Regions from separate parts of the Homo sapiens genome. Here region 2 is linked to region 1. The links are contacts of gene promoters, found by promoter capture Hi-C in human tissues and cell types (Jung and others, 2019). All regions are on one chromosome and are shown on one strand. The core of a region is centred on a gene start or on the middle of the fragment in contact, and the rest is flanking DNA. Distances in the headings are between cores, read along the strand shown.

The links. Contacts are between HindIII fragments. The study calls those that stand out against the background at their distance.
Region 2: a fragment that was not itself captured here is called in contact with the fragment with the promoter of MND1 in region 1 in 1 of the 25 tissues and cell types used here (dorsolateral prefrontal cortex).

What each region holds. Positions count from the first base shown.
Region 1 is chr4:153,340,912-153,348,393 of GRCh38, reverse strand. It overlaps MND1 (meiotic nuclear divisions 1), which reads right to left and starts at 3,706. Exons shown (of 8, transcript NM_032117.4): 1 at 3,654-3,706. The coding sequence starts at 3,656. RefSeq lists enhancers at 2,598-2,717, 2,798-2,857 and silencers at 3,338-3,497, 3,628-3,937. The HindIII fragment of the contact is 8,470 bases long and covers 2,172-7,482 here.
Region 2 is chr4:153,125,382-153,132,863 of GRCh38, reverse strand. No RefSeq gene overlaps it. Among named protein-coding and RNA genes, the nearest start is that of TRIM2, 75 kb to the left of the region's middle. The HindIII fragment of the contact is 6,887 bases long and covers 1-6,378 here.

The DNA.
Region 1 (7,482 bases), core at 2,457-4,956:
CAGTGTCATGCATCTACCCGCCTGCTGGACAAACTTCAACTCCGTCAGTCTAAACTGAACTCTTCCTCTCTCATACCTACTCCCCACAAACTTGCTGTTCTAGACCTTGAGTCTCAGATACTATCTCGTGACCCAAGCCAGAGGCCTGACAGTCATCCTAGGTACCTTCACCTCCTTATCTCACATCCAACCAATCACCAAGTTCTGCCAGTTTCAGCATTTAATTATTTCTCTTATCTGTCCTGTCTGTTCTATCTCTACTACCACTGCCTCATTCAGGCCTTCATCATCTATCTCCTGCAATATACCTCCAGTCCCCTAACCACACTTTGACTCACCCTCTATGTTCACATTCCGCACTGGGAAAACATAAATAAGACCTTTTTCCCTGCCTTGCTCAAAACCCTCCAGTGGCTCCCAGACATCCAGACGTTTCTGAGTACCCCAGTATGATATACAAGGCCCTTTATCACCTAACCCCAACCTACCTTTTATAGCCTCTTCCACCACACCCCACCTCAAACTTTGCCATTAACAGTATGGAGACCTAAGCAACTTGTAATACAAAAACTGCCTGTAATTATCTACTCGAAGAATGCTCTCATTTCCATCCTTAAAAAAAATGTTCCTCCACCTAGAACATCCTCACTTCTTGCCTAGTCAAAACTCCAAAACATCTCCCAAGGCTTAGTTTAGGCACTCTCCCTCCAGAACTTCCCTGAGTTCACAGGCTAAGCATGTATTCCCAGAACACACCTTCATCAAATCACTCACTACATTGAAAAGATGTTTACTTGTCCGTATCAGCACACTGAAAAACTTCTTCAGAACATGAACTGCCTTTGCCTTTCCAGGGCTTAGTGCCAAGTTAGACAAGGGAGACATAAAGCTCTTAATTTTAGGACCATGTATCTAAAGCCCCCAACTCTAAAATTTGAGGCTGCTCAGGCTCCTAAGCCCCCCAACACCTACCATACTCCCATAGATATAACAGGTGAATTAATCATAGTGAATTCAGTGACATCATGTATTGCCTGGCTTGAAGAGACAAATCAGAGAAATCTCAGTTAGGCAAACTCCAGGAACCCATACAGATCTGCTCACTAAACCTAGGGCTGAGAGCTAGGGTCCAGGACTGCTCTATTTGCCTCCCTTCATTCTCACCTCTGCAGTATCTGACAAATCAAGCATGAAATTCATAACAGTTAGAAGACTCCTTCAACATATTTTTCTAGTCCAATAGGTCCTAAACTGCCATACATTAGAATCACCTCAGGAGTTTTTAAAAAATACCGATGCCCAGGCTCATCTCTAATGAATGGAATCAAAATCTCTGGAATGGGACCTGGGCAACATATTTTTTAAATCCTCCAACTTATTTTAAAAATCCTCTCCAACATATTTTTTAATTGTGCCCCAGGGTTGAGAACCCTACTTTTGTCAGCCCAGAATCTGAAGGCCATGTCAAGGGCGCTGCGGGGCAATGGGAATCCCTTTAGAATTTCAGTGTGTCGCTGCACTAGCAGAAAGCAGATCCTGAAGTGTTAGGAAAGACTCCTAACATTTTGATATTCGAAACAGCTCCTTGCACTCCACAAGAATCTGCCCCCCAGAGGCAGGCAATGAGGAGAATCTAGCGTCCTGGGGTACCCAGTTTTAGGAAAGCTCTCAACACTCAGCTCAGCAGCTATGAAAGTTACTCAAGAAATGTGGATGAGCTGTATCATCCATTTACCTTGTTTTCAGGCTGATTTATTCATCAGTCTCTTTCATGACTAGAAATAATTTCTATTATTAACCACAGTAGGAGTATCATAGCCAGAATTAAAATAACTAATGTAAAAAGATGCCATATTAATACTCATATTTAGAAACTTCTCAAAAAAATCAATGAGGATTTATCTAATATTTAATTAAGACTAGGAAAAACCTGATAGTATAAGTTAGAGATGCATTCAAATTAGTAAGTCAGGAGACTCAAAACCTGACTCAAGGACTATGAAGCTTTCTGGAAGTATTTTAAACCACTTAAAAAATCATGTTATCTGAGGAACCTTCTCAGTTAGAAGTTATGGAATTCCTACAGCCAGCCCTACTAATCAATTACGATAAAATTATGAAGAATTATTAAGTAGACATCACTGCTGCTCTCAGAGTTCAGCACTGCACTTCTCCAATTTCAAAAATTGCCTGAACTCATTAACTATTTACTTAGGATGCCTAACCAAATGAAAACAGCTATTAATTCATAATCAATCAAAAGTTTACCTTTGACCAACACTAAATTTATTTCTCGATCACATATTAAAAAATAGGAAGTCCACATCTTATCAAAAGCTTTAATTTTTTAAAAGGATTCTCTATTATCGGAGGTAAGCTTCTAAAGAGTTAACACATTTAGTATTAGCAGGTGATTCATGTGTAGAGAGATAGATTAGGTAAAAGGACAACGCGCGTTTGAGCTGCACAGTTCTCCAAGTCAGTTATACGAGGCCAGCAACTCTGCAGAGAAAAATTGTAACACAGAAGGGCACTGCTAACAGATTTGTTTTAACTGTAGTCCTGTTTGGCTCCTTAGAGCACTTCACGCCCAGGTGGCTGGGTTGTTAGTTTAACCACAAAGAAGCCGTTATCATTTATAACTACATCTGGACAAATATCTTCAAATAAATACCATACAACTGGATCCTGGTGTCCCACCCTGCCCCCCTTAGCTCGGCAACATTTAACGGCCACGTAAGTAAATGAAGATATTAAAATCTTAGATCCATTTAACCAGATGTTGATTCTTCGCCAACTGAAGCAGAAAAAACGGCATGAAACTTTGAAGGTTTATGAAAATGATTTGATGAGCAGAAAGACGTTAAGCTCACAAAGCCGATCTTACCAGGACTTAACTGATCATGACCCACGAGGAAGCCTAATTCAGTGCAGAGCGTCCTTAAAAAAGCAACAGCGCCCTACACAACCAGCAGCACCCGGCACAAGAGCAGCGACTCCTGCCCTTTGGCAGAAACCGGGGCGTTTTCACAGAAATCGACTAATTGGCACACAGTGAAGATCCATTAGGTAACTCGAAACTGAGCAGTTCTGGAATGTGCTCTACATATTACAATACAGAAAACCACTCAATGGTGACAAACCAGGAGTGCGCTTTGGGATCAAGACGTTCGCTCCCCGCAGTCCCTCCCGCCCACTTGCGCTTTCTCTCCCCGTTCTTAATGGGGGGGGCTACACCACGCGGGGCCGAAGCTGGAGGCGTAGGGAGCCCAGGTTCTCAAGGGCCCCGTGGTCTTTTAGATAAATCCAGGTTGGTGAAGTTCTCGGGTCACGTTCGCGAACGCTTCCCGCGTTCTAACCTAACCCGCCCGAACGGGCCCTGGGGACAGACGCGGGGTGCAGCCGGCGGGGAGGCCGCGGATGCCCCCGCGCCTCGGGACTCCGGACAGGAGCGGCGGGGAACGCCGCAGAGTGCGGAGTGGCTGCGGCGGGGCCGGGCTGGGCCCCTACACGGTGAGGCCGAGAGCCGGGCGACCGCTCCCGCGGCCCGGAATGGCGGTCAACGCCAGGCCGGGATCCACATGCAGCCGAGGGGCGGCGAAGCCCACACACTAGGGAGGAAGAAGACGCGGGACCGTAGCCTCAGTCCTTACCATGGCGCGGGCGCAGGGGCTTCCGCTGGCCGGGCCCGCGCTTGGGGAGAGGGGCGGGACAGGCCAGGACGCGTTTGATTTTGGCGCCGACTACGCCGCGGGGGCGGAGCAGCGAGACGGTGGAGGTGGGGGAAAGAGGCCGGTCCTCGCCCGCGCGGCGCGCAGCGACCCCTAGCGACCCATCCGAGCCGCCGGCGGGGGAAGGGGCGCGGGCCTGGGGCCGGGGCTGTGGGGAGCGTGTCCGCGTCTCAGTGGACGGGTTGCAGAGCTGCCTCCGTCTCCTCGGTATTCTGTGAATGTGACCTTTTTTTTTTTTAAGGACATCTTGCCTTTGCTTTTACTGCGTTTTCTTGGCGCCGCAGAAATATGGCCTAAGTTTGGATGTAAAAAATAGAGGCGTTTAGGCTGTTGAGGAAGGAAACGCTGCCTCCATCCTTCCGGACTTGTCCTGTCTGGGGCGGACTGGATTCCTTTCTCGTCTTCTAATCTGACCCCTCATCTTCTCCCGAGCCGCTACCCACTGCTTTCCAGCTTTTCAAATCCTGTGTATGTCTGTTTGTTTTTCCCTTAGGTTTTAAAAAAGAAGGAAACAACGGAATGAATTTCAAATCAACATGGTCAAAAATACGCTACTTCATGGCTTGAGAATAGATCCAGATTCATAGCAAAAGCTCAGGCCCCTGAAAGTGCTGAAAAATTTTAACTCAGAATTCAATTATTTTGAAAATTATTCTATGGTGTTTTGAACCATTTTTAGGTGTAAGAAGTACGGTTGGGCGCTGTGGCTCACACCTGTAATCCCAGCAATTTGGGAGGCCGAGGCGGGCAAATCACTTGAGGTAGGGAGTTTGAGACCAGCCTGGCCAACATGGTGAAATCCCATCTCTAATAAAAATACAAAAATTAGCCAGGCGTGGTGGCGGACGCCTGTACAATCCCAGCTACTCGGGAGGCTGAGGCAGGAGAATCGCTTGGACCCAGGAGGCAGAGGTTGCAGTGAGCCAAGACCCCGCCACTGCACTCCAGCCTGGGCGACAGAGTGAGACTCTGTAACACACACACACGCACGCACACACACACACACACACACACACAGTGTAGTAAGTCTTGTAGATGCTATAAGAGTAGCATCTAAAGTTGGAATTTATGTCCCCTGTTGCTTCTGCTGGAGGCAGAGGAAGGGGTACATTGAATTGCAGAGTTCCATTAATTTGGTTTTTCCTGTAAGAGTTATACCATGTAACTGATGGTACATAAGGTAATTTTAAAATGATAAATGAGTACATTAAGTAACTACAGTAGTGGTATATACATTTGTGCTACTTGGGGAAAGCCTTGTCTTAATTGGCTCTCAGGCTTGTTGCAGGTGAGTGGTGACTATCTGAGGCCAGTGGCGCTGTGGCAGAAAAATTTACCAAGGCAGTTGTAAGTAAAGAAAGGCAGAATCATTAGAGAAAGCATGAAAATACGTTGCAAGGGAGCAATGGGCAGAATCAGCAGAAAAGGAGCTGACTGCAAGGAAACAAAGGCTTGCTGGGGATTTTATAGAATAGTGCTTATGCTGTATACGGAAGAGGGCTTTGTGCAGTACTGATGTTACAGTCCCAAGTTTTCCTCCGCCCCTGCCTCTAAAGCGACACAGTGCAAAAGCCTGCCCTGGGACAGTAACAAATTGACCCAAACAGGTCTTCTTTTGGGAAAAATGAGTGCTAAATGGATATAAAAAAGGGTCACTTAAGCTGCATCTGTATCCTAAGTGTCACTGAGAGCTGCTGTGACAGTTCTCTGAGGTTCCTGTTGTGCATTGCAGTCTTGATCAACCAGACCTGGGAATCACCGCCACCTAGGAAAGAAGACACATTCTACTGCCTCTGGTTCCTTTGCATTTTCAGTACAAATACCTTAAACTTCAGATAACCTTCTGATGCCCCTTCCTTGACATTCTGAAAAGCATGACCTATAGGAGCAGCTTATTTATTTATTTAGAGTTGGGGTTTCGCTCTTTTGCCCAGCCTGGAGTGAAGTGGCATGATTTTGGCTCACTGCAACCTCCAACCCCTAGGTTCAAGCGATTCTCTTGCCTCAGCCTCCTGAGTAGCTGGGATTATAGGCGCCCACCACCACCCCCGGCTAATCTTTGTATTTTTAGTAGAGATGGGGTTTTACCATGTTGGCCAGGCTGGTCTCGATCTCCCAGTCTCAGGCGACCCATCCGCCTTGGCCTCCTAAAGTGCTAGGATTACAGGCGTGAGCCACCGTGCCTGGCAGGAGGAGCTTATAAAGGAAATAGGAAAACAAAGTCAAGTCACTTGGAAGAGACTGAGGAAAAAGTCTGCAATGTAGGAAAAGAAGTAGGAGAATGCAAAACCAAGAGAGGAGAAAATTTTAAAAGAAAAACTTTAGACAAATGAGTTCCTCTCGGCAACGTGGCCAGAGAGGTTTTTTGTTGTTGTTGTTTTGTTTTTTTGAGACAGGGTTTCACTCTGTCACCCAGGCTGGAGTGCAGTGGCACAATCATGGTTCACTGCAATCTAGAACTCCAGGGCTCGAGGGATTCTCCTGCCTTGCCCTCCCAAGTAGTTGGGACTACAGATGTGCATAACTATGCCTGGCTAATTTTTTAAAAATTTTCCATAGAGATGGTGTCTCCCTATGTTGCCTAGGCTGGTCTAGAACGCCTGGATTCAAGCAATCTTCCTGCCTTAGCCTCCCAAAGTATTGGGATTACAGGTGTGAGTCATGCCTAGCCAACAGGAAGTTTTTATAGACAGAAAAGGGAAGTGAGTTACAGAAATAGCTTGACTGATTACAGCTCCTTGTTTGAATTATTTGGCCACTGTCGGCAGCCTGTGGGCTGAAGCTCAGCTACTTGTGATTGGCTGAGAATTGGGGGTTTGTTACACACCATGCTTGGTTTTCAGTTTGTGTACCACGTTAGGTTGCAGTTCCTTACAATTCCTTAGGTAGGAACTCAAAGTGTGGAGACAGCTTCAAGCCAATGGCCGCCTGCTTATTTAACAAAATTTTAAGGAAGAAATAGTAAACATTATCAACCTGTCAGTCACAACACAGCTTCTGAGTTAGAAATGACAATGCAATCATGTCATTTGGGTAGGGCGTCATTCTCAATGGGATGACATCAAAATGGGTTCCTGGGAGACAAAAAGATCTTAGATGGTTTGTGCTCCAGTGGTTTGTGGCTCTCAGTACATAAACAGATGTACAGTATATCTCTGGTATTAAAATTTCATGGGACTGGGGATGGCATTGTGAACAGGGAAAAAACATCTAAAAAGGTTCTTTATGGGAATGGTAATGAGAAAAAAGGTTGAGAAAGACTGATGTCTAGTGAATATATAATTTATCATCCGAACTGAGACACTTCTGAGAACAGAAGGGAATGCTATTCCTATTTATGCTAGGACACAGGCATAAAGAGGATTGTCCCCATCAGCTATGTGATAACATGGAACTTCCATTATACTTTATTAACCCTTCTCCATGGCTCTTTAATTTTCCCTGTTTTATAGTTATTCTTTTAATCTTTCCATCTGGAATGTAAACTCCTTAAGAACAGGCACAGTAACATACTCTTTATAACGGTGCCTCATCAGTAATTTCTTCTTGAGAAATTCTGTGGTCTTGCCATATCAGACTATTTGTTATTCCCTGAACAACTCATGTTCTGGTGCCCTCTTTTAGCACAAGCCTGGGGGGAGTCTGAGTTCCAGGGTGACTCCAGGTGCCTGTGGGTCTACACTCACCCAGCAAGTATCCCTATGGCCAAGAGAGTATAACATTAAGTAGCAAATAAAAAACACTGTGACTG
Region 2 (7,482 bases), core at 1,686-4,185, 210 kb after region 1:
GCACTTCAGGAGGCTGAGGCAGGAGGATCGCTTGAGCCCAGGAGTTTGAGACCAGCCTGGGCAACATGACAAGAACCCATCCCTAAAAAAATTCAAAAAAATTAGCCGGCTTGGTGGTGTGCACCTGTAGTCCCAACTACTTGGGAGGCTGAGGTGGGAGGATTGCTTGAGCCTGGGAGGTGGAGGTTGCAGTAAGCCATGACTGTGCCACTGCACTCCAGCCTGGGCAACAGAGGAAGGCTCTGTCTCAAAAAGAAACAAACAAAAAACATGTACATGAATATTGATAGCAGTGTCATTAATAAAAGCTGAAAAGTGGAAATAATCCTAATGTATATCAACGAATGAATGGGTAGACAAATATTATGTCTATACATGGAATGTTATTTAGCCATAAAAGGTAATAAAGTATTGTTACATGCCATAACATGGATGAACCTTGAAAACATTGTGCTAAAAAGCCAGACACAAAAGACCACATATTGTATGGTTTTATGTATATGAAATGTCTGAATAGACAAATCTATAAAGACAGAAAGTGGATTAGTGGTTGCCTTGAGAGCGGGGAAAGACATAGGTAGTGACTGCTAATTTCTAATTTTTTCTGAGTTCTATCACCGCAGTTTTGAATTTGTCTAATTCTGATTTGTGTTATTTTGTCTTTTGTAATTGTCTTCCCTTAAATAAGAGCTTTTTGATAAAAAAAAATTTACATAGCATACAGTTCACCTACTTAAAGTGTATAATTCAATGGTTTGTTGTGTATTCATAGAGCTATGTCAAAAGGACTCAGAATCCAGTATGAAGAGGTGCCATTGGTCAAATAAGGGACAATTTGAGTGTCAAGAAGCATAATGAATCCATTGATTGAAATCATGAAATATTTTTTAAATTCATGAGTTTACAAGGATATAAATAAATCTCATTGGTCACCTTTAGAGGGCGATGAGGAACCGTTATCATTAACTATTATGTATAACAAACTCCCCCCAAGACGAAGCAGTGTAAACACCCGTTCTATCATGCATATGGATTCTGTATTTCAGGACTTCAGATAGGGCCTGGTGGACCTGGCTCTGTGACATCTGGGACATCAGCTGGAAAGACGAAATGGCTGGGACTGGAGTCATCTGGAGGCCACTTCACTTGCACATTTGGGTCTGGGTTGGGATGACGGAAGCCTGTGCTCAGCTGGGCTGCTATCCAGAGTGCCCATATGCAGCCTTTCTGAGGCAGTGTTCTCAGCGGAGCTGGATTTCTCACAGGGCAGCCACGGGCTCCATGAGCATGTGTCCGAGGAAACAAGGTAGAAGCTGTGTGGCCTTTTATGATGTAGGCATGGAAGTCACAAATTGTCTTTCTTTTTTTTAAACAGAGTCTTGCTCTGTCACCCAGGCTGGAGTGCAGTGGCGCAATCTTGGCTCACTACAATCTCTGCCTCCTGGGTTCAAGCAATTCTCCTGCCTCAGCCTCCTGAGTAGTTGGGATTACAGGTGTCCACCACCACGCCTGGCTAATTTTTGCATTTTTAGTAAAGACAGGGTTTCACCATGTTGGCCAGGCTGGTCTCAAACTCCTGACCTCAGGCGATCTGCCTGCCTCAGCCTCCCAAAGTGCTGGGATTACAGGCAGGAGCCACTGCACCCGGCACAAATTGTCATTTTTAATGCTCTCCTATGCCCCTCCAGATTCAACAAGCGGGATGTAGATCCCATCTCTTGAAGGCAGAAGCGCTGCAGAATTTGCAGTCAAGTTTTACAACCACCACGGGAACACATTCACTTTCTTGAAAACTGGGTAATTAAAGCAAAGAAAATCAAGTTTTTTTTCCTATGTGAACTGTACCGCGGAGAAATCAAATACAGCATGAAGGGCAGAAATGCTTACTAAAAGTATTTTAACTAAAGGATGCAAAATAAATGGTGACATTAGAATATCGTCATTTTGCAGACCACATAAATCTAGCCACTGAGCTAATGAAAGGACACAGCACTACCTAGAATCTTGCCAAAGAGACAACACGAGTCTAGGGATAGAAGAGGAGTCTGACGCAGCCTCTGGCCCCAGCTTCCAAGCTGGCAGGAAAGACAGACAGAGGAACATGTTGAATTGCACCATGAGCCTGCAGTCACCTCAGAGCCAGACTCTGAGATGTTCTACACATCAAATACCCCAGCTTCTTCAGCAGGCAAACTGCAAGGAATGGAGAGAAGCCTATACATTATAATAAACTTAAAAGACATAAGGTAGAAAAATTGGGGGAGGTACAGACTAAACTAAAGTGTCTAGTCAGGCACATTTGGGTCCTAAAACCAAAAAGAAACAGGAAAGTCACTACAGTAAAAGGACAGTGGTTCCTTTTTGGGGAAGGGAGGGAGTTGAGGCTGGAACAGCACAATGGAGCGTTCTGGGGTGACTGGTTCTTTTGGTTACATGGGCGTTCACCTTATTATGACTCATTAAGTTCTACTTTTATTTTGGAAGGTTTCTATATGTTTTATTTTACAATAAAAAGTAAAAGAGGAGCAGAGAAATACAGAAAGAAAGTGATTTTGATGGTGGTGGTGATTGAGGCAGTGGTGGTGATGGCAGTGGTGATGCTATTGGTGGTGGGGGTGGTGGTGGTAGTGATGCTGGTGGTGGTGGTGGGGTGGTAATGGTGGTGGTAGTGATATGGTAGTGGTAGTGGTGGTGGTGATGGTGGTGATGGTAGTGGTGGTGGTGGTGGTGGTAGTGATAGTGATATGGTAGTGGTAGTGGTGGTGGTGATGGTGGTGATGGTAGTGGTGGTGGTGGTGGTGGTAGTGATAGTGATATGGTAGTGGTAGTGGTGGTGGTGATGGTGGTGATGGTAGTGGTGGTGGTGGTGGTGGTAGTGATAGTGATATGGTGGTGATGGTGGTGGTGGGGGTGGTGATGGTGGTAATGGTGATGGTGGTGGTGGTGATGGTGGTGGTGATGGTGTTGATGGTGGTGGTGGGGGTGGTGATGGTGGTGATGGTAGTGGTGGTGGTGGTAGTGATATGGTGGTGATGGTGGTGGTGATGGTGGTGATGGTGGTGGTGGGGGTGGTGATGGTGGTAATGGTGATGGTGGTGTTGGTGATGGTGGTGATGGTAGTGATGGTGGTGGTGATGGTGTTGATGGTGGTGGGGGGGTGGTGATGTTGGTGATGGTGATGGTGGTGGTGAAGGTGGTGGTGATGGTGATGCTGGTGGTGGTAGTGGTGATGGTGGTGGTGGTGATGGTGGTGGTGGTGGTGGGGGTGGTGATGGTGGTAATGGTGATGGTGGTGGTGGTGGTGGTGATGGTGGTGATGGTGGTGGTGATGGTGGTGATGGTGGTGGTGGTGGTGATGGTGGTGATGCTGGTGGTGGTGGTGGTGATGGTGGTGGTGGTGGTGATGGTGGTGGTGGTGATGGTGGTAGTGGTATGGTGGTGGTGATGGTGGTGGTGGTAGTGGTTATGGTGGAGGTAGTGGTATGTTGGTGGTGGTGGTAATGGTGGTGGTGATGCTGATGGTGGTGATGGCAGTGGTGACAGTAGTGGTGGTGGGGGTAATGGTGGCAGTTGTGGTGATGGTGGTAGTGGTGGTGGTGATGGTGGTGGCTAACATTTATTGAACATTTATTAAATGCAAGGCACTGGCCCAGCACCTACCACAGGTTAGCTCATTTAATTCCCCCCACTATTATCCCCCTTTTTCATATAGTGAGACTGAGATTTACAAACTTTAAGTAATCTTCCCAAGGTCTTATGTTACTGAGTGATAGACCAGAAATTTGCTGATGATCCACAAACTGAACAGTCCCACAAGTGAGGTTAAGGGAATGGCAAGGCCATGGGGATTCTATTCCCCTCTTCTCGGCTGAGTGAAAAAAAAAAGTAAATACAGAGTATTTTGCTCTGTAATCTTCAGTCTGGAGAGACTGAAATAAATGTTTCACTTTTGATAAACAGGACTTTAGGGGAGTAGAGAATATTGCTCTAAGCACTTTGTGATAAATTATTGATTTTATTTGGGATTTACATGGAATAATTGATCTTCATGTAGTGATTTTAAAGATCCAGTTATCTTTACTGAAAACAAATGTCCTACACACCTTTGCTATTTATCTTGTTTCTACTCTTTTAAAAGGAAGGCTTTGTTTGTTTGTTTTTTAGGGATAGGGTCTTGCTCTGTTGTCCAAGCTGGGGTGCAGGGGCGCGATCACAGTGCCCTGCAGCCTGGAACTCCCAGGCTCAAGGGACTCTCCCACTTCAGCCTCCTGAGTAGCTGGGACTAGAGAAATGGCCGCCATGCCTGGCTAATTTTTGTATTTTTTGTACAGACAGGGTCTCTCTATGTTACCCAGGCTGGTCTGGAACTCTTGGGCTCAAGCGATCCTTCTGCCTCAGCCTCCCAAAGTGCTTGGATTACAGGTGAGAGCCATTGCGCCAGGCCAGGAAGCCGTTTAAATCATATAAATTCAAAAATAATTCAAATAGAGAAAGAAAATAAATCGTTAGATTTTTAAAATGAAATTTTGGCTATAAAAGAAATACCTTTTTAAGAAACACGATTAAAAGAATATATTCTCTGGTCTCTCCAAATCACACTGAAAATCCCAAAGCAAGCTGTTTAATCTTCTAACATAAAAGCAGGCCCTTTGAATGCAGGGAACATGTCATAATTTCTTTTGTGTTCTCTACCAAGAACATTCAAATTCAGGGCCCGCTTGATAACCAGACCAATGCTTTACAGAATTTGCAATTAGTGGATTGTCCAGAAGAGGGCGCGCGTTGCCCATGTTACTCAAAGGCGCCGCCAGACCCGGCCGAAGCTGAGTAGCTAAGAACAAAAGATGCACATTCCTCTCTGAGGACAGAACAAAAGGGTGGATTTTAAAAAGCAAAAGAAACGCAACATTTAACGCTGCCTCCCATAATCTCCACGAACACCCTACAACTCAGCCACAGCTGGTCACAGGCAGGCTGAATATTACATTGTAAAAAACAAACTGGAAAGCAGCTGTTTTTAAAACAGATATCGTTTGCTTGGTGTAATTCCATCCGGGTAATGCCTATTTATTCAACAGTCAATTCTGCCTGAGTTGTGTTTTCCCGTTATGAGATACAGGTGGGCATCGCTGAATCCAAAACCAGTACATAGTAGAGACAAAAGTATAGATGCTCCATTTTGTAAGATCGTGGTGGGACACTGCATTCCCCCAAATAATGCCTCGTATTCTCACCCCTCACTTTGTTTGCTCTCATTACCAGTGAAAAACGCATCTCATCCACATGAATAGCTCCACTCAAATGATAATGCTTTTTTTTTTTTTTTCTGAGACAGAGTCTTACTCTGTAGCCCAGGCTGGAGTACAGTGGCGCAATCTCGGCTGCACTGCAACCTCCGTCTCCCGGGTTCAGGCGATTCTCCTGCCTCAGCCTCGCGAGTGCTGAGATTACAAGCGCGCACCACCACGCCCAGCTAAGTTTTTGTATTTTTACTAGAGATGGGGTTGCTCCATGTTGGCCAGGATGGTCTCGAACTCCTGACCTCAAGTGATCTGCCTACCTCAGCCTCCCAAAGTGCTGGGATTACAGGCGTGAGCCATGGCGCCTGGCCTGATAAAGCTTTTTAAAACTTAGTTATAGCCACTTTCATGGTCAGCTTTTAAGAAAGCAGTAAATATTCCTCAGCAAAGGCAAAGATAGCAATATCTCAGAGCAGGCAACTCAAAGCAAACACACAAAAGGAAAACCCAGCCCCCTTGTTTACTTACGGGTCTTCAAGCTCCTAATATTGACATGAGTTTCTGAGGTCTCCTGTGCATTTTCTTTTCTACAGCAAACAACAGGGCTTTTAACCTATAAAGAGGTAGATCTGGCTGCCCCAGAAAGGTGGGTTAACTGTCCCCCAACAGACTAAAGGAGAGTGAACGGTGCTGAAGAGCAACAGGCAAGAAGTCTTAGGAAAATAAGCTCCTCTGCATGAGTTATAGTGAGGCATTAGCGAATTTGGGGCAAAGACCCAGAACGGGAAACAGCCATCAGATTCGTGTGTGAGAAGTATTCAGCCACAGCTTTTTCTTAGGGTCTGTTTGAAAGTATTACATTTAACTTCAGCATGCCTTTCCAAAAGGTATATTTAGAAGCAATTAGGTTAAAAGCTTTGAGCTCCTTGGAGTTCTATCTATACAGATATCTACTGGCCTAGGGGACCTTAAGGTATTGAATTAAATGAGTCTCCCCAGCCTTTTTGTTGAGACAGGGTCTAGCTCTGTCACCCAGGCTGGAGTGCAGTGATGCATGATCATGGTTTGCTGCAGCTTCGAATTTCTGGGCTCAAGTGATCCTCCTACTTCAGCCTCCCGAATAGCTGGGACTACAAATGCGAGACACCATGCCCAGCTAATTTTTAAATTTTTTGTAGATATGGGGGTTTTGCCATGTTGCTCAGACTGGTATAAAACTCCTGGGCTCCAGTGAACTTCCCACCTCGGCCTCCCAAAGCATTGGGATTATAAGTATGAGTCACCACTCCTGGCCAAGTCTCCTTTTAAGATGCAAGAGTCTCCATATATAAAGAAAGCAGCTAGACTTGGAGCACGCAAGCTTTAAGGCATTTAGAAAAGATCAGGTGCACCTCAGTATGAGGGCTACTAAGGAGTTGAGAGCTGTTGCTCTCAGCAGTCATTTTCCCTATGGGGCAGATTGCTCAGGTAGGAGCCCTCTGAAGGTGTGAGACAGGACTCAGGTGTGAGACAGGACTCAGGTGTATCTCTGCCTGCCCACACCCAGGAGGGTCTCCACGAGCAAAATCAGGGGACAGGCAAATGAGAGAGCCCTCCCCAGCATGCCTTCCCCACACCTGCTGCCTGGCTCGCTGAGCTGTCTTGACTGCCTACTTTTGGCTTAGGAAACCAGGCTGAGGCCTAGGCAGCCTACAGACCCTCTGCAGACCCTCTGCAGACCCAAGCCCTATTCAGCCCAAGCTCACCCTTCCCTCTGATCACATCTTCCCTTGGTGCCATTTTTAACTTCAACTCCAGTTACTTCCTGCTCGTTTTCAAGTGTGGGAGTTTTGATCCTGGGGCCTTAAGGATGGACCCTTAAGGGGGCTGAAATGCTCTAAAGTCATCTGCAAAATGTGTGGTTATAAATATGTTTCCTTTGTCCTGAGAGGTGACCCTTTGCTTTCACCAGATTCTCAAAGGAATTTACAGCCACCAAAAGGCCGTAGAAACCAATCCAGGGGGACTGTGAATGAACCGAGGTTGGAGACACTGCACTGTGTCAGCGTTAAGCCACAGCTGTCAAGTCGTGACAGGCAGAAGAGTCTAAGGAGCTCACTGGGCCAGGTACCATGGCTCACGCCTCTAATCCCAGCACTTTGGGAGGCTGAGGTGGGCAGATCACCTGAGGCCAGGAGTTCGAGACCAGCCTGGCCAGCATGGTAGAAATCCTGTCTCTACTAAACTACTAAAACTACAAAAA